Regions from separate parts of the Homo sapiens genome. Here all the other regions are linked to region 1. The links are contacts of gene promoters, found by promoter capture Hi-C in blood cells and fetal thymus (Javierre and others, 2016). All regions are on one chromosome and are shown on one strand. Each heading gives the region's core, a stretch centred on a gene start or on the middle of the fragment in contact. The rest is flanking DNA. Distances are from core to core; before and after follow the strand shown.

Region 1 (2,700 bases), core at 120-2,619:
TCTAAAGTAATTCTAAATCATCATACTAAATTTTCTACCTTTATCTACTTTTAAAACTTTATTTTTAGAGTTTTAGTGGTTTAGATGAAACTCGGAAATGTCTCTATTCTGGACCACAGAGCCTGGAAGTAAGACAGGGGTGTTCAATGTTTTGGCTTCCCTGGGCCACATTGAAAGAAGAATTGTCTTGGGCCACACATAAAATACACTAACACTAATGACAGCTGATGAGCAAAAAAAGAAAAAAAATCACAAAAAAATCTCATAATGTTTTAAGAAAGTTTATGAATTTGTGTTGTGCTGCATTCAATGCCTTTCTGGGCCACAGGTTGAACAAGCTTGCTGTAAGATGTTGCTAAATCTCCCCAAGTATGTTTCATAAAGCACTGACCTATAGAGCTAATCTCTGAAAACAAACAAAAAGCAGTCCATGGTCAAGTAAGTTTGGAGAAAAATATATGCTATATCTCTGTATTGAAAAGTCATAGAGCATTTTAGCACATTAAAGGCTCCGAGAGGCCCAACAATGAAGAATTCAGCATTTCCCAAACTTACTTACCAGAAAACACTTTCAAGTCCCTTGGAACCAGTGTTCATGGAACTCAGTCTGGTAAATACTGCATCATTTAGCTTCTGAATGGCCCAATACAACCAGCCTTTTGGTTATAAATAATCTCCATTTATAACACAGTTGGATGGAGCTTAAAGGACACCCATCTTTGTCACCCATGAAGGTCTTCATTCCCACCTGCATGTTCTTACCAAGTTATTGTTCAGAGCATATTTGAAAGGAATGCAGAACAAACGATTTGTTATAGCTCTGTTTGAAAGTGCCTCTTTACACAAAACCAAAATCTATTTCTCTATAGATTCTATCCATTCATCTTCATTCAGTTTATTGGAGCCACAAATAATAAATCTAAAATGTTATATCACTTTTTCAGCCTGAGGGCCTAAAGGATCACATAGAACCTGTAGTCACTGGTAGAACAGCAAACAAAAAGCTTACTTGTCCTCTTCATCTGAAAAGTAAACAAAAGAAGTGGGAAACGTTTGCAGATGCCTGGCATACCGAGCCATTATTAGTGAGGGTATAATGATTAGAAGATAATGGCCCGGTACCTTTGAAGACTGGAATGAAGATTTCTGTGTAGTGACACACTGGCAATGTGAATAGTCCTAATTTGACAACAAAACAACCTAAATCTCTTTTATGAGGTGAGCAGTGTATCTTAGGTAATAAACACTTAAGTAATTAGGCATTTTTTATGGAAATAACTATAAACTGAAACATGGGGGAAAAACCCTCAGTAATAGGCTGACGCCCAGGGAGATGGGTATATAAGAGCCAGAGCAGAAGAGAGGAGCATCGAGACACCAACAGACTTCTCTCAACTCAACAAAAACCCACCTCCCATTGCCATGTATTGCTGTGCTCTCCGCTCCTGCAGCGTCCCCACCGGCCCTGCCACCACCTTCTGCTCATTTGATAAAAGCTGCCGCTGTGGAGTCTGCCTACCCAGCACCTGCCCACATGAGATCAGCCTCCTTCAGCCCATCTGCTGTGACACCTGCCCCCCACCCTGCTGCAAGCCTGATACCTATGTGCCAACTTGCTGGCTGCTCAACAACTGTCACCCGACTCCCGGACTGAGTGGGATCAACCTGACCACCTATGTTCAGCCTGGCTGTGAGAGTCCCTGTGAGCCCCGCTGTTAACCAGCCGAGTCTGCACAGGTTCCGTGAGGTGGCTGCCCAATGTCCTCTGCACCATCTGGGCTTCAGCACTCACTACTGCCTACATCAAGGCTAAGGCCATCCCAATCCCCGGGGCCAAGTCTTGATGAATCTTCTTAATTATTTGCACATTTGGGTACCATTGGAGACCTCCCTTCTGTCTTTTAGGCTATTTCATCACTCTTTGAGAAATAACCATTTTGACCATTTGTTAATAAACTTTATTCTGGCTTAGCAAATATGACCTTGTGATTATTTATTTTCATGTCTCCCATTAGGGAAAGTGGAATGCCTACCTAAACCTGAACAGTAGGTTATCACACTATCCAAGATTTACCCCAACAGAATAAGAGCTCTCATAGTGGAATTTATCGAAAAAATAGATACTGGTTATTTGTGATAAGTTAAAAAGTAAAAAATGTGGTAGTTCATTTTATAGAAGCTTTTTATTTAACAGATATTTATTTAATAGATATTATTGGAAGACATCCACTGTGCAAGCACTATGCTAGAGTCTAGAGATTAACAGAATGTTTTAAAAATACTTGATTTTAGTTTCCATTGATTCTGACATTGATTTTTCTTTCTTCCTTAATTGACTAAATGAATTGATCACTGTGCTGGTGTGTATAAATAATTTGATTATCCTAGTCCTCACAGTCATCTGAAATTCTGAGCTCAAAATGCAAAGCAATTTTGAGAAGTGTATATATCCATTTCTTCATATATGCTGTCTTCCAAAACAATCCATTTTTAATTAATGTTAGCATTTATCGAGTATTCATTGATTCCTCAAATGGGGCTTACATTGGTTTACATTAGTCATGACTATGATTAGAAGTTTGCTAGTCTAAGTGACATATAATATCATGACATTGAAATATGCTTAAAATATCAGACTACAGTGTAGTATTTTCTATACACCAGAAATAGTCACACAATTCTGAGAGCAAAAACACACAG
Region 2 (2,700 bases), core at 34-2,533, 370 kb before region 1:
TATGCTTCATATTCATGCTTCAGTGCTGCCATCTGAACTCTCACTGCTCCAGACTGTTTCCAGCATATTTTTTCTTCTAGATATTTCTACTCTTGCTCATCTTTAGAGAGGCTGTTGCTTTAGTACAAGTTGGCAAATTTTTTAATTTTAGGGCTTTGTGGACACTATAGTCTCTGTCACAACTACACAACTCTGCCACTGTAGCACAAAAGCAGCCATATACAATAGCTAAACAAATGGGCATGGCTGTGTTCCATTAAAACTTTATTTACTGCCGGACGCATTGGCTCACGCCTGTAATCCCAGCACTTTGGGAGGCCGAGGCGGGCGGATCACGAGTTCAGGAGTTCAAGAGCAGCCTGGCCAACATGGTGAAACCCCATTTCTGCTAAAAACACAAAAATTAGCCGGGTGTGGTGGCGGGCACCTGTAATCCCAGCTACTCGGGGGGCTGAGGCAGATAATTGCTTGAACCCGGGAGGTGGAGGTTGCAGTGAGCCGAGATCGTGCCACTGCACTCCAGCCTGGGCGACAGAGTGAGACTCTGTCTCAAAAAAAAAAAAACAGAAAACAAACAAACAAAAACTTTATTTACAAAAATTCAGCAGGGTAAACTTGACGTGTGGGCTGCCATTTGCAGATGCCCTCTTTTAGGTATACTCCCATCCATTCCATTGGTTTCCATTTTACTTTCTCATTTCTCAACCATGAACATGCCATTGTTTTCAGTTGCTCCATGTGTTGGCAAGTTCCCTAAACCCCAACGAATAGTAAGGCTCAGGATCATTTCGGCGAATACAGGTTGAGTTTCTGCTATAAAAACAAATTGAATGCTGAAACATGGATGAATGTGGGAGGAAAGAGCTACTTGGAAGAGTAACTCTCAAAGCTCTCTCTCAGAGCTCTCTCTCTGGGGAGAAAGAACAGTGGCGGAAACTCCTGGGTGAGGAATCCCTGATTCCCAAACAACTCCACCCCATGTCCCTGGCTGTCCTCCCCTCTGAGTAATGCAGACAGCCTTTTGGGGCTGTGATGATTCTATCTCCTATGAAGCCATCTGATGAAACTCTGATTTCACCAACCACTAGCACCCAGGAAGAGCCTGGTGTGACATAAGCTGAATGGAATAATTTTATGGGTTGAGGGGGGACTCTTTAGAAGCATCTAACTAGCATATTTTGGAGAAAAATTAGCTGAAGCATTAGGAAAGGAAACTATGCTGTATGCCAAGCCCCCACCCACAATTAATGGTATAAAAGGACTGCAGAGGAAGGAGAGACTCAAACCTGCCCACATCCACCTCCAGCAGCTTACCTGCTTTTCCATTACCTGTTCCAGCACCATGTCTTACAGTTGTTGCCTGCCCAGCCTGGGCTGCCGCACCAGCTGCTCCTCCCGGCCCTGCGTGCCCCCCAGCTGCCACGGCTACACCCTGCCTGGGGCCTGCAACATCCCCGCCAATGTGAGCAACTGCAACTGGTTCTGTGAGGGCTCCTTCAATGGCAGCGAGAAGGAGACTATGCAGTTCCTGAACGACCGCCTGGCCAGCTACCTGGAGAAGGTGCGTCAGCTGGAGCGGGACAACGCGGAGCTGGAGAAACTCATCCAGGAGCGGTCCCAGCAGCAGGAGCCCTTGCTGTGCCCCAGCTACCAGTCCTACTTCAAGACCATTGAGGAGCTCCAGCAGAAGGTGAGGGGGTTGGCCATATGGGGGGCCAGCAGCAGCTGGCTCTCTTTGAACAGTAAGACATTTTCAAGTTCAAGTGTACCTCATGAGAGAAATTTCTTTTCAGATTCTGTGTGCCAAGGCTGAGAATGCCAGGCTGGTGGTGAACATTGACAATGCCAAGCTGGCCTCTGACGACTTCAGAAGCAAGTATGTTGAACTTCAAGGTCCCTATGGTTCTTTCATGGCCCTAGGGACCTACTATTGCCTGGAAGAGAGGAGAAAGCCATTTCTCTCTATTTCTCCTCCTAGGGCTGGTTATGTAAAATTAGTTTCAAATAGGGAACTAGACTCATGTGCTGCCTGCTCTTTGGTCTATACTGGTTTTTTTTGGAAGTGTTTCTTAAACCACAAAATTCAGAGATTGAAATGAATTGTTCTTTGGGAATTGATTTGGTGGTATATTAGCTAACAAAACCGAGAACACAGTGAGAGACTTCATCTCATGTGTGCCTGTGGGCTCCTCGTGGTGTTAGGTGAGTCAGGGAACCTCTTCAGCCTATCCATGGACAGCTTGACTGAAGCATATGGAAGAGAAGAGGCAGAAAACTGTAAGTTCAAGAAGATTCAGGCCAATTCTACCCAAACAACACATGAGAGGGGAAGGTGGTTTTCTTTCCTGACTTATCCTCCCACTCCGACACGTGCAGGTACCAGACGGAGCAGTCCCTGAGGCTGTTGGTGGAGTCGGACATCAACAGCATACGCAGGATCCTGGATGAGCTGACCCTCTGCAAGTCTGACCTGGAGTCCCAGGTGGAGTCCCTGAGGGAGGAGCTGATCTGCTTGAAGAAGAACCATGAGGAGGTATGAAACAAATTCACAAAAGCAGGCCTCAGAACTAAGCTACTAGCACTGGGAATCAGGAGAGGATTACTGTCTGGATCCCTGGTCTGGGACCCTTCTCTGAGGAACTCAAGATGTTCTCAGAGAGTGACGGTGCTACATCCATATCAAGGAGTGGAGTGAGCTGC
Region 3 (2,700 bases), core at 16-2,515, 400 kb before region 1:
CAGAAGCCCCAGAACAGGTAACTTAAATTGAGCTTTTAGGATGACATGCCCATTATGAACAAGGCACTGGCTGGGGCTTCGCCGACATTGTGTCACAGGGCACCACATCAGCCCTGCAAAGAAGAAGCAGCTGTTATTATTCTCAGTTGGTTACTGAGTCAAGACTTGAAACCTAGTCTCTTTGAACCAGATCCAAAGCCCGTTCTTTGGAAGCTTTGAGGGGGAAACAAATTAAACATGAGAAGGTTTAGGACAGTGGTTCTTAAAGCGTGGTCCGCCAGCAGGTAGCACTGGCATTACCTGAGAACTTGCTAGACATGCACATTCTTGAGCACCACCCCTGACTTACTGAACCAGCATTCTGCTTTAGCATGACTTGCAGGTGATTCTGATGTTGGTTCAAGTTTGAGAAACACTGGGTTAGGAAGTTTATTTGAGGAATGAGCCCTTGACTAGCTAGACCCTCTACAGAAAGGGCTGGCCTTGCCGTCCTGATATGTCCTCCAGTGAGGAATCCCTCATACCATCAGATCAGGATAGAGCCTTTCTCTTTTACATTGCAAAACTCTGAAAATGTTACATGATAGTTATTTCTATCAGTCTAGAAAGGCCCAAACAAGCTGACCCATCCAACCTCCCCAGTAACCCCCATTGGTGAGTCCTTATGGCAACTGTCTGTCTTGGAATTTGCAGATGGTAGAACATGAATCAAAAGCTCCATATTTTGATAGCCGTGGCTGAGAATCAGCACATCTCCAGAATTCAGCATCACAGCTGGCCAGAGAAGAGAAGCAGTGAGTTCCCTATCCTTGGAGACAAGCAGAGGCTTCAGAATCACTGATGGGGATGTTGAGGGGAACACTTAGGGAACTGATGGGGCTGGTTGAGATGGCTGTAGCCCCCCTAACTCTGTGCGTCCCTGCTTTCTATGTCTTATTGATCAGTGAAACCACAGGCATTGAAGTGGAACCACCAAATCTACTTTAGGAGCTGGTTTTGGTCTTCCCTTTCCCTCTGTGAATTCTCTGAATCACTGTAGTTTGCTGAAAAATTTACAAGTACAGCTGGTTCTGGTTTAATCCAGGTCTTCCTGATACAGCGGTGTGGTGCTGGAGTGACCACAGTCCCGAGCCCCAAGGCTGGAGGGAGCTTAAGTGAGAATCTTGTTGCTCTGCCTCCAACTGCTCTCAAGCCCAGCGTCCTACTTGTTGGTCACTGCTCATGTACATAGGACTGATCTGCTTGAGAGACACTGGGATTTCCAGCATAGGAAGCCCAAGAAGGGTCAGAGGCTGCCACGCCCTCCCCTCCTCTGTTCTTTTTCTCAAGTGGTAAAACTGTTTTGGCACACGTGACACACCCCTTGGGCACCTACCCAAGAGAAGCTCTCAATAATGAAGAGCCATCTCGATTAGTCTTAATTTAGTACCTGACCCAGCTGCCCTCATCTCCTTTGTACTTAAATAGCTCCTTTCATCCAACAAGTTCAAAGCTGTCTAACAAAATAAACCCACTTATTCTTGCACCATGACGGCACAGGCAAGCATTGTCCTTCCCATTTAAGGGAGAGAGAGAGAAGGTGAGTCATTCAGTGGTTAAGGGATTCTGCTGGTGACATAAAGTGAGTCAGTGGGGCCCCAGGGTGATTGACCTGTGTTTCTTAAGTTCACATCCAGTGCTCTCTCATTTCTAATTAAAAGATTAGCTTTGATGAGACAGTACATGTGTGTGTGTGCACGCACATCTGTGTGTTTGTCGTGTGTGAAGAGTTTCCCTGGAAACCACAGAGGTCATCATTACCATCACCATCACCAGAATCATCATCATCATCATCATCAAATCATATAGCTTCACCATCATCATCATTGTCATAGAACCATATATCCATCAAGCTCTTACTATGAGCCAGGCGCTGGTCTAAATTATAGCTACAGTCATATGGGTAAACTCATTTAATCATTACAACAATCCTAGAAAGCCAATGCTATGGTTTTCTCATTTTGCAGACAAGTAGCCAAGACTCAGAGAGGCTAAGTAACATGCCCAAGGTCACACAGCTATTAGGTGGTGAAGCCAGGATTCAGATCCAAGCAGCCTGCCTCCAGCAACTGTGCTCTTAACTACTGTGCTTTACAGAGGCCAAGTCTCAGATTTTGTCAAAAGGATGATAGAATCATAATGACCCCATTGTTTTGATTCCTTTCCTTGAAGGAAATGAGTATGTTTATGTTAGAAGAAACGTTTCTGAGAATTTATGCCACAAAGGGTGGTACAAGGAATAAAAGTCCTTTAGTATCTCACAGGATCTTGAAGCTTGAGGACTCTGGCAATTTTAATAAACTAGGAGTTGACAAAGAAGCTCAACTCACTTCCTGCCATTTTAAAACCACCTTGTCTATTGAGAAAGAGGAGGAGGGAAACAGAATCCCTATAGATGTTCATTGTTTCACCATTTACAAAACACTTGTTAAAGTACTTTGTGTTGTATCCAAATGGAGGCCCCAAACAACCTTGAGAGAGGGGAACAGACATCACAATCCCCATCGTGCAGTGGGAGAAGTACAGGTGTAGGGAGGTGAAATGCCCCCTCTGCACCTCACAGCAGGTGAGGGGCAGCTCCACGCACTCAACCCCAAGTCTTCTCATTTCTTTTTCCCTGCTCTTTCCCTGTTCCCAACTGTGAGGGCCTTGCTGGAGGTA
Region 4 (2,700 bases), core at 101-2,600, 430 kb before region 1:
TAGAGATCGGCATGTCTAAAGTCAGAATCCACACAGAGAATGTTGTGCACACAGGTGAATGAAGGAGGGCAGCAGGCTCCCATCTCTCACACTCTGTATTCATCACTTCTTGTTACTGAACCTGGCCTCATATTCGGTCACCAGGGGCCACAGGGACTCTTTTTAAAGGGTTGGGAAGGAAGAGAGTCTTAGGATCCCCACCCGCTCCTTCACCTCCTTTGAGAAAATACAAATCAGGGGAACAAAGCGATTTTACAAAGAGCCATGCAACATCAGTATCATTATGCAAAACAGTACAAGGTAGAAGCCCAAGCCAGGACCCAAGCCAGTTGGCAGAGAGGGGTGTCATCTGGACACACAAGGCTTCAGCAGTGATGAGTCATGTATTGTGAATGGACGAAATCGTGGCTTTTAGTCCATGGAATGAATCTGGGCAGAGGATAAAGCCAAAAGATGGGTGCTACTTAGCAAATCAAAGGAAATGACTTTAAAAGCCTGGCTCTCTGATTTATAGAGAAGCTTGTTGCTATGTGATGAGGCGGAGGAGAGTAACAAAAGGGTGTTTGAAGATGTAACATATGCAGATTGCACCCAGTGGCCTCTGGAGGATGGGACAGCCTGCCCTGGTGATGTCTCCCAATGATGTTGTCTGTAAAGGGTTATGGATTGGTGAGCTCTGAATAACCCTTAGGTCAGCGCTCACTACTACTTACTTTCCTGAGAAGCCCAATCTGGACTGAATTCTCAGATTCTGTATTTCTTCTTGATAGAACTCCAATAGCCTGTGTTTCACATATGCACGTCTGATCCCTATAGAGGTGTATGTTCAGCTTTTGTTCAATGCTCAGGGGACTGGCAAAAACTCATTTTCCCAAAATTCTAGTTATAATCACTTTGGATTGTTCCACATTAGGTTTTTCTTAGTCTCAGGGGTCTATGTATCTTCTGTCACAAATTTTGGGAGAAAAGTTTTGGGATCTCAGCAGCCATGTGTCTTGGATCCCTAGTACCAAGAACTATCTGAATGTGGAATGTGTAATATAACCATTTTAGGGACAGGACTTTCCCCTGGCATCTTCTGATTTAGCCCTTGGAGAAACTCTGTTTTATTGTATGAATACCTCCACATCTGTATTTTCTGAGATACAAAGGGAAAAATACACAATGTCAGATTTTTGTTTTACATCTTAATTTCAACTTCTTGCCCGGTTTCTAGGAATTTGAATCCTTCTTAGTTCTAGCAATGACACAGTAGTTATCCTTGGGGTGGAGGATTTGGAGGTGGTCAAGGTGAAGAAACAGTTTCTGGAGTTGAAAGAAGCTGATGTTGAGAATAGGCTTTATACTTTATAGTGAGGTTGATCTTAGAAAACTGTCCTCAATGGCTTGTTTATTTATTTTGTAAAATTAAGAGTACCCACCTCCCAGGTTGGAAGTAAAGATTAAAAGGTATCATTGCTCAATCCCCTAGCTCATAGGGTGAAGGCTCATGACTGACTTTAGAATAAAGGAAGCAAGGTATGAAGAGAGCCCACAGAGGCTCTGATCACTCAATGTCCTTTGACTTTCATGACCAAGTTCTTATTTGAGGTTCAGTAAGATTATTGCTCATTTCTCTTTGTTTATTTCTGGCTTCTTGAGCTTGCCCTTCTTGGTCGAGATAAGCCATGGTTTTTGGAGTCATCCTCATTTTCATGAGCTTCTCAGATACCTTGTTTGAAACATCACGTCTACCCAAGTTACAGTTGTTCCCCAATGGCAGGAACTATTTTGTGCTTAACCAACTATATATCAAGCATCAGCAAGGTGCGTAGCATATGGGACGTAGCCAGGGGATGTGTTTTGAGTGACTGGATTCATCTAAGTCTTGTTGCTCCTCAAAGTGAGTCTGAAAGGCAACCAACTAAAGAAAGAAGAAATGTAGGACTTCTTGATAACCCAAGGCCATAACATCCACCAATTCCAAGACTCAGTTTCTTCCCTGGATAGGGAAGGCTGGTTGAGTCTTAACCCAAGTGAGAACCATTGTCATCACCGGGGTTAGTCCTCCTGCTACACCACTGACCAACAGGAAAGTTTGTGTCTCCAGAGTGGACACATCCATAAAGAGGCCAAACCCAGTCAAGGTCTAAGCATCTGATGGCTATAACTTTGCTTCTTTGAAAGATAATAAAAAGCTTCTGACCTCCCATCAACAGCCAACCTGATTTCAAAGAGCCAAGAGGCCTCAGATTCGTCAACATTCCTTTAACGAGCTGAGAAACTTTTCATGGTAAACTCAGCAGCTGAGTAACAGGATGATGGCACCACAACAGGTAGATAATCAAGGCAGGAGGTCAAAGCATTGGAGCCAACACCCGCCCAGGATGGGGTATAAAAGGGCTGGGAGGAGAGGAGGCTTCAGTCTCAGTGGTTCAGCTTTCCCAGCTGATCTGAAGCTCCTGTGCAGCCTCAGCCCAACACCATGACCTCTTCCTACAGCAGCTCCTCATGCCCTCTGGGTTGCACCATGGCTCCTGGAGCAAGAAATGTCTCTGTCTCTCCCATCGACATTGGGTGCCAGCCTGGGGCAGAGGCCAACATTGCCCCCATGTGCCTTTTGGCCAACGTGGCACATGCCAACCGAGTCCGTGTGGGGTCCACTCCCCTGGGCCGCCCCAGCCTCTGTCTGCCGCCTACCTGCCACACTGCTTGTCCCTT
Region 5 (2,700 bases), core at 179-2,678, 420 kb before region 1:
CGGTTTTCTCCATGTTGTTCATGCTGGTCTCGAACTCCTGACCTCAGGTGATCCGCCTGCCTTGGCCTCCCAAAGTACAGGGATTACAGGCGTGAGCCACCGCGCCCGGCCTAGTTTAACTTTTTAAAGTGCATTTTCTTGTTGTCACTGCCATAGTATTTAAATCTTTTCCTTTGCTGGAACACAAAGACCTTCAGTAATTTTCTTTTCACCACAATTTCTCATCCAGTAACTAAGCCCCTTCTTGCCCTCTCCTTAGGCCCAGCACTGACGGGGCAATGACACCGTTGTTCTCACCGGGGGCCATGATGAAGTGAAAAGAGAATGGGCCTAGCAGACATGAGACTGAATCGAGCCTTTGCCAGTTCACTAACTGTCAATCAGAAAATGTGCAAATGTACTTCACTCTAGTTTTCTCATCTGTACATTGAGGCAATGAGTAACCACCTCATAGGTGGTAAGGGTTAGATAGGAAAGAACACAGTAGAATGCCTAGCACACCTAAGTACTCAATCAATGTTAGTTCTGGACCTTTCATTTGAATACTGCTTGAGCTCTGTGCCCAATCTCCCTTTCCTGGATCAAATAAGATTTTTCTTTGTTAGTGATTTCTTTCTAGATACTTCCTTGGCCAGAACTATAGATCCTCTGTCTTTCACTAACTCTTGTTGATCTATGGTTCTCATTCAAGTTTGTGTAGAACATCCAGAGATTTCAGAGGCATTGTTTACTCCTGATGAACAGGGAACATTGCGTGTCCAGGAACCAGCACACTGCCTGAGTTATGGGGGATATTCAGGAAGCATGCTGAACCAATGAATGAATGAACAAATGAATGAATAGCTGATTCTGACTAGTCAACCAAAACTTAATTAGCGCCATTGCTTCCAGATGTTATTGCTTCTCAAGGGAGTATGCAATGTGAAAGAAGAAAGAAAAAAAGGCGCCTCTCAATCGTCAAATATCAGTAGATGCATTGGTTTTATTAACTGATATTTTCTCTTCAAAGGAAAGGCTGATTCAGTCTTGCACAGGCGAAAGATCCAGTGGGTCCCATTGGTTCTCTGTGTCTCCTGCTACACAAATTACTGACGGAAAGATTTGAGCCTTCATTGTGACCACATCCACAGAGACCATAGTCCAGAGAGAGCAATTGGGGCCTGAATCAACTGCTGGTGTTTGTTGAGCAGAAACAGTGAGTCTCTGACTTCCCACCAACAGCTAACCTGATATGGAAGAGCCAAGAGGCATCTCAGATTTGTCAACATTGCTTTAATGAGCTGAGGAACTTCTCATGGTAAACTCAGCAGCTGAGTAACAGGATGATGGCACCACAACAGGTAGATAATCAAGGCAGGAGGTCAAAGCACTGGAGCCAACACCCGCCCAGGATGGGGTATAAAAGGGTTGGGAGGAGAGGAGGCTTCAGTCTCAGTGGCTCAGCCTTCCCAGCTGATCTGAAGCTCCTGTGCAGCCTCAGCCCTACACCATGACCTCCTTCTACAGCACCTCCTCATGCCCTCTGGGTTGCACCATGGCTCCTGGAGCAAGAAATGTCTTTGTCTCTCCTATCGATGTTGGGTGCCAGCCTGTGGCAGAGGCCAATGCTGCCTCCATGTGCCTCTTGGCCAACGTGGCACACGCCAACAGAGTCCGTGTGGGGTCGACTCCCCTGGGCCGCCCCAGCCTCTGTCTGCCCCCAACCAGTCACACTGCTTGTCCCTTGCCAGGGACCTGTCACATTCCCGGCAACATCGGAATCTGTGGGGCCTACGGCAAAAACACCCTGAATGGCCATGAGAAGGAGACCATGAAGTTCCTGAATGACCGCCTGGCCAACTACCTGGAGAAGGTGCGCCAGCTGGAGCAGGAGAATGCAGAGCTGGAGACCACACTCCTCGAGAGGAGCAAGTGCCACGAGTCCACCGTGTGCCCCGACTACCAGTCCTACTTCCGTACAATCGAGGAGCTCCAGCAGAAGGTGAGGTGTGGGATCGCCTGGGCATGCTGGGTCTGAGAAGGCAGAAGCCTTCGCAGGAGGAATCTGCATAAGGTCCAGAGAGCTTTGGGTTCTTGGTTTCTCTTGGACATGAGCGTAAATACCACACATGGAGTGGGAGCTTAGAGTATGGTGCTTTGTGTGTGAACCGTCTTTCCGTTTTCCTCAGATCCTGTGCAGCAAGGCTGAGAATGCCAGGCTGATTGTACAAATTGACAACGCGAAGCTGGCTGCTGATGACTTTAGGATCAAGTAAGTCAGGATGAGGAGGGTCAGTGTGACTTCTCTCCTGCTGTATTTCCAAGGGCCCGCCCCATTACTCAGTCTATATTGTAGGTGTTCAAAAACAGTTTTTGACTAGAAGAATATTTCTCTCCACACCTTAAATTAGCCTGTTGCTAGAAATGGTCATTATATAGGAGGAAAGAGAATATAAGCATTGAAAGAAAAAGAAGGGCTGTAGTCTAGATTGGTTAGAACCTATGTCACTTTCTCCCATATCTAGAAGATAAGAGGATTTTGCTTTTCAATCAGAAGTAAAATTGAGTCATCACAAAAATAAACTGTCAATGCATAGGTTGTTGCTAGACTCTCTGACTCTTGGCCAAATCCATCAGCTGGAGGAATTGTCATTGAAGCTCCTTGGTAGCTAGAGTTGTGCTTGAATGAAGGGGAAAAGCAAGAAAACAACGAGAAATAAT
Region 6 (2,700 bases), core at 93-2,592, 470 kb before region 1:
ACGTCAGTTAATTGGAGGCCAAGAAATCTACCAATAGTCACTGCCTTGGGCATTCAGAGCTGGGAGGGCACAGCAGGGCTGGAGCAGGGGCCAGACTTCGGGGGAAGGCCTGGCCAGGACTGGGCCCTTAGAGGCAGTGGGGTGGGCCTGTGGTTTGGAGCTGCAAGGCCTGGGCTTTAGCCTCCCTGGGAAGCCTGTGTGGACCTTGGGTAAGCCATTTTCTACTCTGACCATTGTCTCCTTCTGTAGGAGTCAGCACCTTTCTATCCACGACTGTGTTGGAGGGTGTGTGTGAGGCCTTAAAGAAGATAGCATGCCTTGAACAGTTGTACAGATGCTTTTTCAGCTGTGATCTGGGACAGGCTCCTGAAACAGTCCAAGCCTCCTCTATTTAATGGGCTATTGGTGATGCCAATCTCATGAGTTTGTGTGAGGACTGAATAAGAGAATGCATAGAGACAGATCAGCGTGGGGGCTGGTGGGTACTAAATGCTCAGTGAATGATGGTTGCTACCATCAGCCGGGTTATTGATAGGGCTGTGTGAAAAGAGCTCCAATTCAGGCAGCCAGAAGGAAGGGCTTCTCCATTTCTCAACCAGGGCTGGGGAAGACATGCCCTCCTAGATGTCATCATGGGCAGGTGTCCAATTAACTGATCTCTAGGCATTGTGGCTAGAACTTAGGCTCTACAACCTGCACAGACTTCCTGGCAAGGGAAAGAGTAGGGAAGTGTCCATCAGGGCTCTGCAGTATCTAGGGTGATAAGCTGTCCCATTTTACCGAGGACTGAGGTTTCCCTGGCATATGGAACTTTCGGAACTAAAGCCAGAAAATTCCTGGGGAAACCAAGAAAATTGGTCACCTTAGCCATATTTTCTGGGCCAATTCAAGAGCCTTCTGTGTCTCCCTGGCTGCAAGACCCCTGCCTTCCTGCACCAACCAAGTTTACCCTTCCATCTTCTGGGAGCACCCCAGAGACCTCCTCTACTCCCTCAGGCCAATAAAAGAAGTCAAAGTTGGAGAAAGTCAAGACAGTGGCTGAACTCCCATGCTTGCTTAATGCGGAGGCTGAGGTCTGGGCTCAAATGACAGGTCCCTTTGAAGAACTGACAGGGACTTGGTCTTCCCAGTGATGTGGGGTGGTGGAGATGAGTCTTGACATAGTAATGGGGCTCCTATTTTATGAGACTGGTAAATTTTCACAGGAAACTAAATAACAGGTTAATGAGGGGTTTTAATAGAAAGTGGTGTTAACTTTAATGAGGAGAAAACACTTTGTAAAGGCCAACCAATGCCCACTGGGGCAGAGATATAAATCTGGGGTAAGGAGCTGCTTCTCTGCTTTGGGGTGTCTGGCCTCAGAGACCTATCAATTGCATCTGAGTTGCAGGGGCCATGGCTTCCAAATGCCTCAAGGCCGGCTTCTCTTCTGGGTCTCTCAAGAGCCCAGGAGGGGCCAGTGGGGGCTCCACTCGTGTGTCCGCAATGTACTCCAGCAGCTCTTGCAAGCTTCCAAGTCTCTCCCCTGTGGCCAGAAGTTTCTCTGCCTGCTCAGTGGGTCTGGGCAGAAGCAGCTACAGGGCCACCAGCTGCCTCCCTGCTCTCTGCCTCCCTGCTGGAGGCTTCGCTACCAGCTACAGTGGGGGTGGGGGCTGGTTTGGGGAGGGCATCCTCACTGGCAATGAGAAGGAGACCATGCAATCCCTGAACGACCGCCTGGCCGGCTACCTGGAGAAGGTGCGTCAGCTGGAGCAGGAGAACGCCAGCCTGGAGAGCCGCATCCGTGAGTGGTGTGAGCAGCAGGTCCCCTACATGTGCCCTGACTACCAGTCCTACTTCCGGACCATCGAGGAGCTCCAGAAGAAGGTAAGAGGTTCAGAGTGGCTTTGGATTCCCAGGAACTTTGTGTCACCAGCATTCATTGGTAGTTCTGTTCCCATAGGGCATGTTGGAAGTCACCAAGCATGTTCATCTCTGTGGCCTCATTTGCTCCTCCCAATAACCTTAAGAGGGAGGTATCATTAGCCCATTATACAGTTGAGAACACTGAGATTCAGGCTGGGTAAGCGACCCAGATGGCAGTTACTGGAGCCAGAGCTTGAACATCAGGTCTATGAATGAACTCTGTGACCTTTGGTGGTATTGCCCAATCCTCTGAGTCTTCTGAGTTTTCATTTCCTCTTTTATTTAAAGTCAGGGGATTGGGTTTGATGTATTTAGTGCAGTGCAGTTCAGGCTTCCCATAAGTAACTCAGGGAAGAAAATGCCTGTCAGAGAAGTTTCTTTCTTGCCAAGGGCCCATATCCACTTCTCGCCTGGCCCAAAGTTATAGCTGGCTCCTGTGAGGGACCATTTATGACCAGAGAATCCCGGGGTATGTTGTTGGCAATGAAATGCCCTGGGCCCCCAGTAGGCCTGGGAGACAGGGAGATTGGAAGAAGCCTCATTTCATCATGCCAGGCCTTTCCTGTTGCATTTTCATGCAGCTATCTAACCTGAGTAACAGGTCACAGATACACTGCACTGGAAGAAACCCTGGACTTTCCATAGTTGATCCCTAGAGCCTGCCCATAACACTCCAATGCACATGGAGTAGCAGAGGTCTAGGATGGGTGACTTCCTCCTTCCAGAGTCAGCCCTTGTCAGCTTTAGGGAGCTCCAACAAGTGGAATGTCCTTTCTTGCAATGAAATAACTTCTT
Region 7 (2,700 bases), core at 141-2,640, 450 kb before region 1:
TTGGCCTCCCAGAGTGCTGGGATTACAGGCATGAGCTACTGTGACCGGCCAGCCATGGGTATTTTTTGAGGGCTCCCATGTGGCGCTAATGTGCAGCCAGGTTTGAAAACCCCTGTTCTAAATGATGCCGGCAGGGAGGTACTTGGGAAATCTCAGATCCAATCCTGAAGGCAGACAAAGGTTGCAGAAGAAAGGAGGGATTTAGGATCAGATTTACGAACAGAAACTGTGGTTCCATAATGTACCAGCTGTTTACCCTTGAACAAGTCATTTGACCTTTCTGGGCTTCCGTTTCCAAAGTGACTGGTGTAGGGAGGGCTCATTTCCAGCATCAAAGGGAGATTTGGCTCTTCTTGGTTCTTTCTGAAGCAGGCCATGGTAAACAGCTCCCTTCCTCATGGTTATGTCTTCCTTTGCCTTAGAGGGACTCCCTGGAAAACACGCTGACGGAGAGTGAGGCCCGCTACAGCTCCCAGCTGGCCCAGATGCAGTGCATGATCACCAACGTTGAGGCCCAGCTGGCTGAGATCCGGGCTGACCTGGAGCGGCAGAACCAGGAGTACCAGGTGCTGCTGGACGTCCGGGCCCGGCTGGAGGGCGAGATCAACACGTACCGGAGCCTGCTGGAGAACGAGGACTGCAAGTACGCAGGCCCAGCTGAGGCTTAGAGAGACGTGGGCAGGGATTCTGGGAGGTTATAGGAAGCAACTGGATCTACCCTTGAGGGACCATCAGCTTAGAACCCTGTCCTGACTATGGAGCCATTAAGAAGCTGGTATGCTCTGAAGGAAGTCAGGCAGTGGTGTTCATGCTGCCATCCTGAACCAAGCCCCTCGGAGACCATTCTATCTCATTCCAAGCTGGCAAGCTCCTTCTAAGTGCCCACCATGGGGCAGGTGCTATGGAGGACACCAAGATAGAGGAAGACAGGGCATTTGCCCTCCTGTCATTTCCATATGTTTAGGGAGATAGGCAGACAGGTGACTGGAGGTCATGGCCTGTCCAGAGCTTAGGATGAAAAGCAGCTTTATTAATAGTACCTACACAATCCTGCTCCCACCTCTTACCCCAGCCTCACCTCATAGCTCCATTCCTCTCAGAACGGAGATTTTGGCATGTCAGCAGGACAATAGGTAGCCTTGTGTAATTGAGCCCTGGTGGGGAGCAGGACAGGAAAGATCAGCCGGGGCCCATTTATGGAGAACAACACGGGTCATACTGGGAAGGGAGGGCTTTAATTTATAGGTGAGTGGAAATTGTTTTGAGGAGGAAATGAGAGAATTTACTGTGTGTCTTCTCCACTAGATGGTAAACATCTAGAATGCAGAGACATTATAATACAATTTTATTCCCTGTACGTGGCACATAGTAGATGCTCAGTAAATGTCTCTCAAGCTCAAAGCTGTTCTTCAGGAAGATGGCCCTGATAGCAGCAGGAAGAACTGAGTAGAGGGAGGGGAACCAGGCAGGGAAACTGTCCAGGAGGCCCTGGCCACAGCCTAGGTAAGCAATAGGGAGGGCCTGAGTTAGGGCAGCAGAGGCATCAGCTCTAGACACTGTGCAGGTAGAATCAGCAGGACTTGGTGGCTGTCTGAATGCAGGGTACCTCTGGGCCATGGACACCCAGTGGGCTGACGACTGTTGTAGCTGTTTCTTATTCCGCATTTGGCATTGCTTCTCCATCATTCAGAATCTATAACTTCAGGGCAAGTGTTGTGTCAAACATTTGCAAGGACCAGGCCATTAACATGCATGAATGACGTGGGTCATACGGAGATGGTAGAAAAGCAGAAAGCTCTTGCCTTGTCCAATCCAGGCAATGGCATGCCCTCAGGGCCACTTCTACTGTGTGAGAAGCAGGTCCAATATTGCTGATCTTCCAATAGTTCCAGGGAAGCTGAGAATCTGGGTTTTTAAAAATGTTAAATTCTCCTGATTCTTAAGTATTTTCAAAAAATTAAAGAAAATATATAGTGCCAGGCAAATGGAACACATTTCAGGTTGCACATGATCCTCAGGCCTCCCATTGGTTCTCTGAGCTACTGGGTTTCCATCCAGCATCCAGTGTGTTGTTCCTGGTTTTGAGTGCATGCCTGTCAGTCTCTGAGATCATCCTTTTTCCTTTCACCATGTATTAATTCTTCATTCATTTATTGTTTTGTCTGATCCAAATATTCTTATTAGGTGCCTATTCTATGTGAGGTATGCAGGGTGGGCATGGGTCTGTGGCTGCTGGCCTCACTGCTTGGCCGGGGAGACAGACCATAATAGAATGATTACTACTCACGATGAAAGGAGATACATGTACCATGGGGGCTTTGTCTCAGAGAGGTGGGGGAGGCTTCAAGGAGGACGTGAGAGTTGAGTTGAGCTCTTAAACAAGAGAAGAAATGTAGGTGAGTGGAGAGGGAAGAGGGTTCCAGAGATGTACGGCACAGGGCACAAGCCCTGTGGCCTGAGCAGTACAGTCCCTGCAGGAGCTGGAAGAAGGTCAGAGTACCTGCAGCTCCCAGAGCAATGGAGCTATCAGGTGAGGCTGGGGCAAGAGGTGGGAGCAGGATCATGCAGGTCCTATTAAGGAAGCTGCTTTTCTTTATTTTATTTTATTTTACTTTAACTTCTGGGATACATGTGCAGAACGTGCAGGTTTGTTACATAGGTGTACATGTGCCATGGTGGTGGTTTGTTGCCTATCAACCC

The links. The method cuts DNA at HindIII sites, captures the fragments that hold promoters and counts their contacts. A CHiCAGO score of 5 or more calls a contact.
Region 2: the fragment with the promoter of KRT34 here is called in contact with the fragment with the promoter of KRTAP3-1 in region 1 in 16 of 17 cell types (naive B cells, M2 macrophages, total B cells and 13 more); the score reaches 11.5 in naive B cells.
Region 3: a contact is called between a fragment that was not itself captured here and the fragment with the promoter of KRTAP3-1 in region 1, in 12 of 17 cell types (total CD8 T cells, erythroblasts, naive B cells and 9 more). The highest score is 9.6, in total CD8 T cells.
Region 4: a fragment that was not itself captured here is called in contact with the fragment with the promoter of KRTAP3-1 in region 1 in 13 of 17 cell types (endothelial precursors, activated CD4 T cells, erythroblasts and 10 more); the score reaches 8.9 in endothelial precursors.
Region 5: a contact is called between the fragment with the promoter of KRT37 here and the fragment with the promoter of KRTAP3-1 in region 1, in 6 of 17 cell types (megakaryocytes, naive B cells, M0 macrophages and 3 more). The highest score is 7.9, in megakaryocytes.
Region 6: a contact is called between the fragment with the promoter of KRT35 here and the fragment with the promoter of KRTAP3-1 in region 1, in 8 of 17 cell types (activated CD4 T cells, total CD8 T cells, naive CD4 T cells and 5 more). The highest score is 9.7, in activated CD4 T cells.
Region 7: a contact is called between a fragment that was not itself captured here and the fragment with the promoter of KRTAP3-1 in region 1, in 12 of 17 cell types (total CD8 T cells, erythroblasts, megakaryocytes and 9 more). The highest score is 12.7, in total CD8 T cells.

The regions. Positions count from the first base shown.
Region 1 is chr17:41,007,797-41,010,496 of GRCh38, reverse strand. KRTAP3-1 (keratin associated protein 3-1) reads left to right here and starts at 1,369. Exons shown (of 1, transcript NM_031958.2): 1 at 1,369-1,976. The coding sequence starts at 1,423. The coding sequence ends at 1,719. The HindIII fragment of the contact is 1,175 bases long and covers 1,007-2,181 here.
Region 2 is chr17:41,380,889-41,383,588 of GRCh38, reverse strand. It overlaps KRT34 (keratin 34), which reads left to right and starts at 1,283. Exons shown (of 7, transcript NM_001386014.1): 1 at 1,283-1,690; 2 at 1,794-1,876; 3 at 2,377-2,533. The coding sequence starts at 1,343. RefSeq lists an enhancer at 1,091-2,290. The HindIII fragment of the contact is 8,651 bases long and covers 1-2,700 here.
Region 3 is chr17:41,403,017-41,405,716 of GRCh38, reverse strand. The region is part of intron 1 of LOC100505782 (a long non-coding RNA gene); the gene reads right to left. Among named protein-coding and RNA genes, the nearest start is that of KRT31, 6.8 kb to the right of the region's middle. RefSeq lists an enhancer at 828-2,027. The HindIII fragment of the contact is 2,100 bases long and covers 216-2,315 here.
Region 4 is chr17:41,440,686-41,443,385 of GRCh38, reverse strand. KRT38 (keratin 38) reads left to right here and starts at 2,403. Exons shown (of 7, transcript NM_006771.4): 1 at 2,403-2,700. The coding sequence starts at 2,465. RefSeq lists an enhancer at 2,247-2,700. The HindIII fragment of the contact is 1,658 bases long and covers 522-2,179 here.
Region 5 is chr17:41,423,313-41,426,012 of GRCh38, reverse strand. KRT37 (keratin 37) reads left to right here and starts at 1,428. Exons shown (of 7, transcript NM_003770.5): 1 at 1,428-1,981; 2 at 2,169-2,251. The coding sequence starts at 1,490. The HindIII fragment of the contact is 11,234 bases long and covers 1-2,700 here.
Region 6 is chr17:41,479,793-41,482,492 of GRCh38, reverse strand. KRT35 (keratin 35) reads left to right here and starts at 1,342. Exons shown (of 7, transcript NM_002280.6): 1 at 1,342-1,866. The coding sequence starts at 1,396. The HindIII fragment of the contact is 10,492 bases long and covers 1-1,511 here.
Region 7 is chr17:41,460,773-41,463,472 of GRCh38, reverse strand. It overlaps KRT32 (keratin 32), which reads left to right. Exons shown (of 7, transcript NM_002278.3): 6 at 423-643. Among named protein-coding and RNA genes, the nearest start is that of KRT32, 5.3 kb to the left of the region's middle. The HindIII fragment of the contact is 8,593 bases long and covers 1-2,700 here.